Regions from separate parts of the Homo sapiens genome. Here regions 1 and 3 are each linked to region 2. The links are contacts of gene promoters, found by promoter capture Hi-C in human tissues and cell types (Jung and others, 2019). All regions are on one chromosome and are shown on one strand. The core of a region is centred on a gene start or on the middle of the fragment in contact, and the rest is flanking DNA. Distances in the headings are between cores, read along the strand shown.

The links. The method cuts DNA at HindIII sites, captures the fragments that hold promoters and counts their contacts. A contact is called where the count stands out against the background at its distance.
Region 1: the fragment with the promoter of ZNF556 here is called in contact with the fragment with the promoter of LMNB2 in region 2 in 3 of the 25 tissues and cell types used here (dorsolateral prefrontal cortex, lymphoblastoid cells and spleen).
Region 3: the fragment with the promoter of DIRAS1 here is called in contact with the fragment with the promoter of LMNB2 in region 2 in 4 of the 25 tissues and cell types used here (IMR-90 fibroblasts, aorta, dorsolateral prefrontal cortex and 1 more).

Annotation. Positions count from the first base shown.
Region 1 is chr19:2,865,688-2,869,432 of GRCh38, reverse strand. It overlaps ZNF556 (zinc finger protein 556), which reads right to left and starts at 2,098. Exons shown (of 4, transcript NM_024967.3): 1 at 2,009-2,098. The coding sequence starts at 2,011. The HindIII fragment of the contact is 10,595 bases long and covers 1-3,745 here.
Region 2 is chr19:2,454,900-2,458,620 of GRCh38, reverse strand. LMNB2 (lamin B2) reads left to right here and starts at 1,662. Exons shown (of 12, transcript NM_032737.4): 1 at 1,662-1,951. The coding sequence starts at 1,688. RefSeq lists silencers at 1,564-1,743, 1,864-2,113, 2,174-2,263, 2,494-2,673 and enhancers at 2,934-3,642, 3,643-3,721. The HindIII fragment of the contact is 70,551 bases long and covers 1-3,721 here.
Region 3 is chr19:2,719,727-2,723,551 of GRCh38, reverse strand. It overlaps DIRAS1 (DIRAS family GTPase 1), which reads left to right and starts at 2,180. Exons shown (of 2, transcript NM_145173.4): 1 at 2,180-2,248. The HindIII fragment of the contact is 24,571 bases long and covers 1-3,825 here.

The DNA.
Region 1 (3,745 bases), core at 849-3,348, 410 kb before region 2:
ATCGCGCCACTGCACTCCAGCGTCGGTGACAGAGCAAGACTCCGTCTCAAAAAATAAAAAATTTAAAAAAAGAGGAGATATAAAATTTCCTCATGGGCTCAAGGTGGGGCAAGACAGAGCAGGAAGAATCAAGGAAGACTAATTATTTCACACAGGAAAGCTGGAATAATGGAGTTACCAGCAACTGAGATGTAGGCGGTAATATGTGGACCAGGCTCTTGGGGAGAGGATGAGGATATACTGCAGTGCAGCTGAGAATAAGGCATTCAAGTGGACACACATGTAATAATGTCTTTAGGGGCACTGGTCACAATGGAAAAAATTTGAAAATACCCGAATAGTCACTAGCAAGCAGTGGAATTAATGAACACTAACAATATATCCCTATGAGTGAATATAAAAGAGTGATAAAGGGGCCAGGTGTGGTGGCTCACGCCTGTAATCCCAGCACTTTGGGAGGCTGAGGTGGGTGGATCAGCTGAGGTCAGGAGTTCGAGACCAGCCTGGCCAACATGGTGGAACCCCGTCTCTACTAAAAATACAAAAATTAGCTGGGTGTGGCCACACGTGCCTGTAATCCCAGCTATTCGGGAGGCTGAGGTAGGAGAATCGCTTGAACCCAGGAGGCGGAGGTTGCAGTAAGCAGAGATCGCGCCATTGCACTCCAGCCTGGGTGACAGAGCGAGGCTCCATCTGAAAAAAAAAAAAAAATTAGCTAGTCATGGTGGCACATGCTGCCTGTAATCCAAGCATTCTGGGAGGCCAAGGCGGGTGGATCACCTGAGGTCAGGAGTTGGAGACCAGCTTGGCCAACATGGTAAAACCCTGTCTCCACTAAAAATACAAAAATTAGCTGGACGTGGTGGCACACACCTGTAGTCCCAGCTGCTGGGGAGGCTGAGGCAGGAGAATCAATCGCTTGAACTCAGGAGGCGGAGGTTGCAGTGAGCCGAGATCGCGCCACTGCACTCCAGCCTGGGTGACAGAGCAAGACTCCGTTTCAAAAAATAAAAACAAAAAATAAAAGAACAGAATTATCATCTATCACAAATTCTCCATCCTGGAAAAGGAGAATAACTGATATTTTAGCGAGTTTTTGTAATTCACCAAATTATATACCAAACATTTTTTTCTTGTAGGAATGTATTCATTTCGGGGCGTGTCATAATAAAAGAGAGATTTTCTCTCTTTCTCTGCGATTCTTTTTCCCGGGAGCCCCGTCAAGGGCTAAGCCCTGGAATCCCATTTGTCATCACCGAAAATAAAACAACAGATGTGAGAAACTTAACCACACGGGCAAAAAAGGAACAGAAAATAAAAAGAAAAAAAAAAGGCACGCTAGAATTTTTAACAAATGGAATGTAAGACGAGAACTTTATTTTTTTCTGAAATTCACCTCCTTGGAAATATTTTATCTTTCAAACTCTATTATTTACTGTATGTTCCATTGACTGAAAAAATCTGAGGCTCAAGTAACCAAATCAATCTTTAGAAGGAGAGAGGCCCAGGCAGGGGCGGCTGGGCTGGAGTCCGGCCTGCGGGCCTTTGGGGTCAGGCCAGCCCGTGCCGCCACGTGGAGCGCCCGCACCACCTGTCCACCCCTCGCCCCTCCCAGGGACGTGGGCCTGGGCCCAAAGTCTGCATCCAAAGCGCATTCTGCTTTGGGGCTGTTGCACCGCCTCGCTGGGGTGAGGTTTTTTTTTTTTTTGTTTTGTTTTTTGTACTTTGGGTTAGTTTTTCTTCCAATTAACTTCGCGAGACCCCACAGGGCAGGAGTCATTTCTGCCTTTTTTTCCCCTCCATCCCAGCGTCCTGACAACTACGACTTTCCAGGGAATGAAGACTGGGGCAGGGGAGGAAACTCCCCGCAGGACCCGGGGGTGACACAGGGACAGAGGCTGCATGGGGGTTCCGGGCGGCTCCCCCGGGAGTTTCAGCGTGTTCTGGCCGCTTCCAACCCTCCCCTCCCAGGGCTCCGGCTCCGGCTCGGCTCCTGCCCTGCACTCACCATGTCCTGTCCGTTCCTGAGCTCTTTGAGGAGCTCCCTGCTCCTCGCAGCCGGTGCAGGTGAGCACGACGGGGACACCTGTGGTCACTCAGGGCAGGCCGGGTGTGCTCTGCAGGGAGGACAGCAACGCCCCGCCCCTGGGGCTGTGATTGGATGGTTCTCTTCTCTGCTCATCTCTGATTGGAGAGTTCACCAGTCACATCCCAACTCCCCTGATTGGACAGTTCTTTAGACTCTGCCCCTCCTCTTCTGGTTGGTCAGCTTGCTATCCCCTGAGCTCCCCTGATTGGGCAGTTCTTCAGGCCCCACCCCAGCTTTCCTAATTGGTCATGTTTCCACGCCCTGCCTCAGCTCCTTTGATTTGACAGGTCTCCAGGCTCTGCCCCAACCCCCCTGATTGACAGTTCTCATCCGGATGCTCCACCTCAACTCCCCTGATTGGTCAGTTCTCTAGGCCCCACCCCAGCTGCCTGATTGGTCAGTTTTCAGGTCTCGGGTCCTGCAGGCAGCAGCCCCCATCCACGGTGGTCTCCTTCCTGAAATGAAAGTGGTACTGACTTAGAGGGAAACCTGGGCCCTTGGGGTATCCACCGTAGAAAAAAGCAGCTTCTTCTGTCCTCAGTCTGTTGTCAGATTCCATGACACTGGAGGAGGTCCCCTCTCTCTCCTGACCAGTAGACACCTGGGGAGGCCCATGGGGTCAAGTGAGTGACCAACGAAAGCTTTACCATTCCCTAACTAGGGTCAGCACAATTGCTAGAACTGAACTCTTGAGCCATTAGCAATGGTCTAGCCAGCCGGGCGCGGTGGCTCATGCCTGTAATCACAGCACTTTGGGAGGCCAAGGTGGGTGGATCACCTGAGGTCAGGAGTTTGAGACCAGTGTGGCCAACATGATGAAACCCTGTCTTTACTAAAAATACAAAAAATTAGCCGGGTGTGGTGGTGGGTGCCTGTAATCCCAGCTACTCGGAGGCTAAGGGGGAAGAATCGCTTGAACCTGGAAGGCGGAGGTTGCAGTGAGCTGAGATTGCCCCACTGCACTCAGCCTAGGCAACAAGAGGGAAACTCCGTCTCAAAAACAACAACAACAACAAAAACATAGAAAACAAAACAAAACAAAAAAACCGAAAACACACTTAAAAAAAACTGTGGCAACAACTGTATCCTAGGTCAATATTTTGAGGTTAAAGCACTCTGGGGATATTTTGCCTCACAGTTTCTCAAGTAAAAATCAAGGTCACGAATATCTGTGTACCTATGAAAACTCAAACACCACAGCTGAGCGCTCAATGTGCAGGCAGATGAATAGTCTACAGGCAAATGACATATAATCAAGGAGGCATAATCCCTGGAAGCCTGTTGGTAGGGCTGAGAGCAAATAGATTTTATAGGGTCCCCGCCCACCTTTGCAGAGGCTATTCCGTATACTGTGATCACGGAAGCCACTTAAATGCAAATATTCCTTACCAATCCCACCAGACGTTCTCCTGCTGAGCCACAATACAGGGTTTCACCAAGACCCGCCCTTCCCTTGGGGTTACAGATGCTACTGACAGTGATCAAGGTGCTCAGTTCTTTTCTCAAACGACACTGTAGCGAGATTGATAAGGAATCAGAGAGACCGATGGGGTTCAGGAGGATATTTATTATTTAGCTGCACCAGCCCAGTCCGATTAACACCCAAAGGACTGAGCCCTGAACAAAGAGTTAAGTTACCTTTGAAGCATTTTGTGG
Region 2 (3,721 bases), core at 413-2,912:
CCCAGGATGTTCTCAAACTCCTAGGCTTAAGCGATCTCCCCATCTCAGCCTCCCAAAGTGCTGAGATTACAGGTGAGAGCCACCCGTACCTGGCCTCAAACTGAACTTTAAAGGGTGCAGGTTTTCAAAAAAAAACATTCACAGCCACCAAGCCAAAGGGGACCGGTTAACCTGATAGGGAAGTACCCTCAAAATAGAGGGGGTTAAAACAGACCCTATGAAAAAAGTAACTTTGAAACAACCAATTGGTTTTTATTTCGTATTTTTATTTTTACTTTTTTTGAGACAAACTCTCACTCTGTCACCCAGGCTGGAATGCAGTGATGTGATCAGGGCTCACTGCAACCTTGACCTCTCTTGCTCAAACAATCCTGCCACCTTAGCCTCCCAAATACCTAGGACTATAGGCGCCCAGCTAATTTTTTTTTTTTTTTTTTTTTGAGGTGGAGTCTTACTCTGTTGCCTAGGCTGGAGTGCAGTGGTTCAATCTTGGCTCCCTGCAACCTCCGCCTCCCGGGTTAAAGCAATTCTCCTGCCTCAGCTTCCCGAGTAGCTGAGACTACAGGCATGTGCCACCATGCCTGGCTAATTTTTGTATTTTTAGTAGAGACGGGATTTCACCATATTGGTCAGGCTGGTCTCGAACTCCTGACCTCATGATCTGCCCGGCTTGGCCTCCTAAAGTGCTGGGAATACAGGTGTGAGCCACTGCACCTGGCTAATTTTTTTATTTTTATTTTTAGAAATGGGGTCTTGCTATGTTGCCCAGGCCAGTCTCAAACTCCTGGGCTCAGGCTATCCTCCCACCTCCGCCTCCCAAAGTGCTGGCATTACAGGCGTGAGCAAACCACTGTACCTGGCCTGGCTTTTATTTTAATTCTTATTTCTCCTTTCTTCAGCCTTTTCTGCCTGTAATGCAGAATGCCCATCCTCTCTGCTCAGCTCATTGGAGTGCCTATTTAATAGATTGAATGCTATCCAATTCATGAATTGCTAATAAGAGCCAATGAGATCATTAAACTCAATTTGTTGAAATTCATACTCCTTGACAGCCTCTTCTGGACATTTTATATCAGTGGCATTGTACACTATATGGCTTTTTTTTTTTTTTTTTTTTTTTTTTGAGACAAAGTTTCTCATTGTTGCCCAGGCTGGAGTGCAGTGCCGCGATCTTGGCTTACTGCAACCTCCACGTCCCAAGTTCAAGAGATTCTCCTGCCTCAGCCTCCCAAGTAGCTGGGATTACCGGCGCGCGCCTCCGTAGTAGAGATGGTGTGGGGGGGTCTCCCTATGTGGTCCAGGCTGATCTCGAAATTCTTTTCTCAAGTGATCCACCGGCCTTGGCCTCCCAAAGTGCTGGGATTACAGGCGTGAGCCACCACGCCCGGCCCTATATGGCCTTTTGTGTCTGGTTCTTTGAACACGTTTTGAGGTTCTCTAAGTGGGGAAACAGGTACTAGAAAGCAACCCAACGCTGTTTCCTCGTGGCGGAGCTGGGAGTTTGCAGCCAGGAAGTCTGTCTCTGGAGTCAGCGCCTCTGCGAAGCGAGAGCTGGACGGAGACTTCAACTTCCGGCGTGCCCCGCGCGCGCCCGGCGGTCGGACTACCAGTCCCAGGCTGCCCCGCCGCGGCGGGCGGCGGGCGCGGCGCGGCGCGGCGCCATCTTGCAGCCGGCGGCGCGGATTGAATGAGCCCGCCGAGCCCGGGCCGCCGTCGGGAGCAGCGCAGGCCGCGAGCCGCCGCCACCATGGCCACGCCGCTGCCCGGCCGCGCGGGCGGGCCCGCCACGCCGCTGTCGCCCACGCGCCTGTCGCGGCTGCAGGAGAAGGAGGAGCTGCGCGAGCTCAACGACCGCCTGGCGCACTACATCGACCGCGTCCGCGCGCTGGAGCTGGAGAACGACCGGCTCCTGCTCAAGATCTCAGAGAAGGAGGAGGTGACCACGCGCGAGGTGGGCGCCGGGGCTTAGGGGCCGGGCGGGGGTGCAGCCGGCAGGCCCCGCCCACCGCGGGGCGCGCGATCGCGGGGACCCTGGGCGGGGGTGCAGACGGGGACGGGCCCCGGCTTCGGGGGTTTCCGCGGGGTTTCGGGGGGCCCCTGAGTGAGGGGTGCAGCTCGGCCAGGTCCCTCCCACCGCGGGGTGGGCAATCGCTGGGACCCTGGGTGCAGACAGGGACGGGCCCGGGTCTCGAGGGTCTCCAGGGGGTTTCGAGGGGCCCCTGAGTGAGCGGTGCAGTTCGGCCAGGCCCCGCCCACCGCGGGGTGCGTGATCGCGGGGACCCTGGGCGGGGGTGCAGACGGGGACAGGCTCCGGCTCGGGGGTCTCCAGGAGGTTTGGGGGCTTCTGAGTGAGGGGTGCTGCTCGGCTAGGCCCAGCCCACTGCGGGGCTCCCAGTCGCGGGGAACCCTGAGCTGGGATGCAGACGGGGACAGTCCGGCCTCGGGGATCTCCGCCGCGTTTCGGAGAGTCCCTGAGTGAAAGGTGCTACTCGGCCAGGCCCCGCCCACCACGGGGCGCGCGATCGCGGGGGACTCTGAACGACTCCCGGCTTGGGGTCTCCAGGGGGTTTGCGGGGGGCTCCTGGATGAAGGGTGCAGGTCCTGGCCACCGCGGGGTGCGCGATCGCGGGGACCCTGGGCAGGGGTGCAGACCGGGAAGGGTCCCGGCTTGGGGGTCTCCAGGGGGTTTCAAGGGGTCCCTGAGTGAGGGGTGCAGCTCGGCCAGGCCCAGCCCACCGCGGAGTACGCGATCACGGGGGACCCTGAGCAGGGGTGGGGTCAGCCTGGCCTCGGGGATCTCCAGGGGGAGACCCTGAGTGAGGGGTGCCACCTGGGCAGGCCCTGCCCACCGCAGTTTCCGAGATCTTGGGGGACCCCTTGGGAGGGGTGCAGACCGGAGTGGCCCATTCTCTTGGGGACCTCCAGGGGGTTTCTAGGGCACTGAGTGAAAAGTGCAGACCAGGAATGCCCCACCTATGGAGGGGGTCCCAGGAGATCTTCCGTGTCCTGAGTGAGGGCTGCAGAGGGGCCTCCAGCTAGCTCTGGGGACCCTTCCGTGAGAGGTGCATTTTGGGGCCATGGGGGTTACAGACTAGGGCTCCCCACCAAAGAGAGGTCCTGGGGATTTGGGGGCTCCCTGAGTATTGGGCTGCAGCCCCCCATATGCCTCGTCCCTCAGAGGATTCCAAGGAGACTTGGCGGACCCCCCCCAACTGAGGGGGTGTGAGTGGGAGTCTCTGGGGATGAAGCTGGGTATTGGGGTATCTGGGGTGGAATGGGGGTGGTCTCTGGGCTCCAAGGAGACTGGGGGGCCCAGGCCCTCTGAGGAGGCCCAAGATGGGGTGTGTGGGGGGTCTCCCTGGAGTCTCTGGGGTGAGTCACGTGGTCTCAGTTCTCCCTGGAGCTTTAGCGAGTTCCCTGATGAATCCAGAAGAGATTGGTGACTGGGGTGGGAATTAGGCCCCTCATCTCTCACCAGGCCCAGGGTGGGTAGGGGGCCGAGGGAGAGGTTCTGATACCTTGGGGTCCCACGGGAAATTTGGGAGTCCCTTATTTGTGCCCTGGTGTCAGCGGTGGTCTGGCAGGTTCTGCCCCCAAGAGAATATGAAGGAAGGGTGAGAGTTGGGATCTTGGGTCCGGTGGAAAGTGTTGAGGTTCTGAATGGGCCCCGAGGCTTCAGTGCAGACTGAAGGAGAAGAGGCGGGAAAGTCTGCCCACCAAG
Region 3 (3,825 bases), core at 931-3,430, 260 kb before region 2:
CGGACCTTTCCATGGAGAGGCAGAGCTGGGGCGCCCACCCACCCCCACTCACAAAGGCCAGGCGGAACCCTCTGCTCCCCGGCCCACCATGGGGGAGAAGCTCCTGCTGTCCTAGTTTGGGTGCTCGGAAGAGCTCACTGCCATCTGTGGCCTGGGCACCGCGGGCCATGTGTGGAGACCCCGTTCCTCAGGGACAGCGAGGAGGGGAACAGGGCCTGGCCTCGCCGGCTCACGCGGCCCACAGCCTGGCCTGGGAGCTATAAATAGCAGCCGCAGCGTGGAGTTACCGCCCTGCCCACTCTCCTACGCATGAGTCAGCCTGCCCCGGCCTGAGCTGGTGCCCGGAGGAGACAGGGAGCCGGCCCGACGCCCTGCCCCACGCTGGTGGGTCACTCAGGAGACGAAGGCAGGCAGGCGGACTGGGAAGGGGCAGGGCTGCCGTCTGAGTGCTTGGGTGCCCAGCAGCCCCGTGTAGGTGGGCGCCCTGCCCATGTGTTCCCAGCAACCCTACAGGCGGGCAACAGTGACGTCACTCACAGATGGGGGAACCGATGCTTGAGAAGGCACTTCCCTGCAGGCAGCCATGTAGAGCAGAAGCTGGGATTTGTCTGCCCTCAGGGCTGTCTCCATCTCCTGCTGAGGGCACCCCCAGATGAGGGTCAGGGGCCGGGCCATGCTCTGAGGTGCTCCCGCAGGGCTGGGGTCAGGGTGGGAGGGAGGTGCACGCCAGGAGCACTCAGGCCGGGCCATGGATGCCAGGCTGAGAAGCTGGACCTTGGCCTGGGAGAAGGGAGCCATGGGTGGCGTTAGAGCAGGGGAGGCCCATGTTGCAGTTGGAGCATTGAGTGGCAGAGTGGAAGGAGGGCTGGAGGAAGGGGTCTGGAGGCCAGGAGGGGGAGTGGGGTCAAATCAGGGAGAAATAGAGCTCCTTGAGCCCCAAAGCCGCTTGAACCTCAGTGCCCCAGCCTCAGTGGCAACAGGAGAGGGGACTGAGTGGTCTTGGAGGCAGTGCCAAGTCTCCGCAGAGGCAGATGGGCCCACCTCATCCAGGGCCATGGAAATGGTGGGTCATGGAGAACCCCAGGAGCTGAGGGCCCAAGGGGTTCACCTGCTCACAGGCCTGGTGATGGGGAGCTCACCACCTTCCAGACCAGCCTCTCACCCACTGATGGCTCTGACTCTGGAGAGACCCCTGTGGGTCCCAGAGTTGGCCTCTCCACCAAGGGGCGCCTTCCTCTGACAGCCTTGCGGCCTGGGACTGTCCCGCACCCACCCCTGAGAGCACCTTCTGGCCTGGTCACTAGACCCCAAAGTCCAGTCTCCTCTGGGATCTGCCCGATGAGGCCAAAAGGAACCTCGGCCTCCCGGTCTCCAAAATGGAGGCGGAACCATGGTCTCTTGTGGACACACAGACGCATCAGAAAAGCCAGTGCTCCCCTAAGACACCTCCTGTTGGGGGAACACAAACATTTTCCTAACCGAAAACGGCAAACCCATCCGCTGCAGAGCAGCGCCAGCCCCCTTTGCTCACCCCCCACCTCCCTAGGCCTGACTGCCATGGGCTGCCTCCGCCTCCACAAAACCAGCCCTACAGAGCGCTGAGTCCGCTTCTGCCCCCATCCCGCCCCTGCCCAGGCCCCTGGGATGGGTGGGCCTCCAGGTGCACCCCATTGACCTGAACCCTCCCGCCTCTGCCCGCTTCTAAACCTGTTCATTGATTGTTGATTATCGACTTACTCATTTCACAACGCACCCCTCTGATTCCCCGCCCTGCGTGTGACCGGGCCCCAGCCGGCCTCAGGGGTCCCGTTCTGCACCCCCTTTATCCGCATTTCTGCCAAAGCCCTCCACCCCCGGCTGGACTCTGCTCCTCCCAAGCCGGGCTCCTGGCCCCCACTCGGGGTTCCCCGGGAAGCGGCCCCAGCTCCCACCCCGAGGGAGGGCGCGCGCAGGTGGCTACGTGGCAGGGCGGGGGTCCCGGATCCTGGCGACCTCTCCCACCCCGGGCGCGGGCAGGGGTCCCGCGTGGGGCGGCGGTGACCTTGGCCGGGCGGCGCGCCGGCCCCGTGGGCGCGGGTCCCCGGGGCGGGGCGGGGCGGGGCGGGGCGGGGCGGAGCGCGGGGCCCGGCGGGCGGGGACGGCGCGGGCGCGACTGCGGCGGCTCGGGCGGGCGGGGGGCGGCGGCGCCAGCGGACACCGGAGCGGGCAGGAGCAGCGGCCGCGGCGCCGCAGGGACCAGCGGGCCCAGGTAGGCGGCCCGGGGCGGGGAGGGGGTCCCTGCGCAGCCCCCAGCCGGCCGTCCTCCCCGCCGCGCGTCCCTCCTTTGTCCCGGCCCCAGCCTCCCGGGCCTTGGGGCCGGGCCCTTCCCCGCGTGGCTCCGGGGCCCCTCGCCGGGCGTCCCCCGTCCCTTCCCGCCGGGCCCGGCCGGCCCCTCCGCGCTCACCTTGGACAGCTCCCGGCCGCCTCCCCTCCCCCACCCGGAGGGCGCCCCCCTGCCGAGCCCGCCCCACCGAGGCCCACCCCGCCGCCCCTCTCCGCATTGGTCCCCTCGGGCAGGGCCTCCTCCCTCCTGCAGCCGCCTTCTTCGCCCTCCGCCCCGCTGCCCAGCCAAGCCCCTCCCTCCGCGCCCCCTCCCCGGGGTGGGCTCCTCCTCTCCACCACTGAGGTCCTCCTGAGTCAAGGGTCGCCCCTGGGCTGGCCCCGCACTGTGCCTCTGCGCCCTCGGGCCCCCTAGAGCAGGCCCTTTCTCCATCAAACCCCTCACCGGCCAGGCGGCCCTGGGTCAGACCCCCGCCCCACCCTTGGTCAGGCGTGACCCCCGCTAGACCCCTGGGTCGCGGCTCTCTCTGCTTTCCTGACCCTGAGCTTTGCTTTGACACCCCCGCCCCCACCAACCACGCCGTGCCCGGCCGGGAGCCGGGCTTCAGGGACCCAGGGCTGGGGTAGATTGGCCCTGCCTGGACGTCTGGGGGTGGGCTGCCCCGCACAGGCGGGAAACCCCAGGAGTCTAGCCAAGCAGGGTGGGCTTCCAGCCCCGCTGTGCGCCTCCACCCCCCTGCTCTGTGACCTTGAGCCAGCCCCTCCTGCTCCTGCCTCGGTGCCCACGACCCCCTCCCTCCACCCGCACCCCCCAGGCGGTGGAGGTGGGAAGTGGCGTGGGCTTCGGGGCTGTTGAGTGCAAGCGCCTTTCTGGTCAGGGATTCCAGACCCAGCGGGGAGGACAGTACTGCTCATGGGGGCTGGAGCTTCAGTGCCCGCAGCAAGGCAAAGGCTGGATCTGGGTCCACAGAACCCATGGCCATTAGGACCCCAGGCCGGTCTTGGTGGCGTCTTTCTGCACAGCAGCGTGCCCGCCTCTCAGGGCGCCCACCCAGGAAAGGGCAGGGTCTGCAGCACAGGCCGCCTCCCCCCCACCACCAGCACCCCCAGCCTCCTCCGAATGCCGAGAAATTACTATGCATGTAGTCCACAAACCCGGCAGCCAATCACATGAGTTGGCATTGCCGAGGCGCCCAGAAGTTTGCCTGGCTCATCACAACTGGGGACTGTGTCAGCTGGCGCTTTCATCAGCCTCTTTTCTTTTCCTGGCAAATCTGTTACCCTTGATAATCCAGAAGGTGCCTTTGCAACCAACAGGCACAGCCAAGTGCCCTGCCCACCGGCCCCAAGCCCTTGTGACTGTGATCACAATTGTGATCGGGGTCTCCGCTGTACAGGGCACTGCCTAGGGCCTTTCTCCACCTTGTCACCTTACTTGCCCCAACAGTGGCTCGCATTTCACAGAAGAGAAAACGGAGGCTTAGGGACTTGAATTTGCCTGTTTAG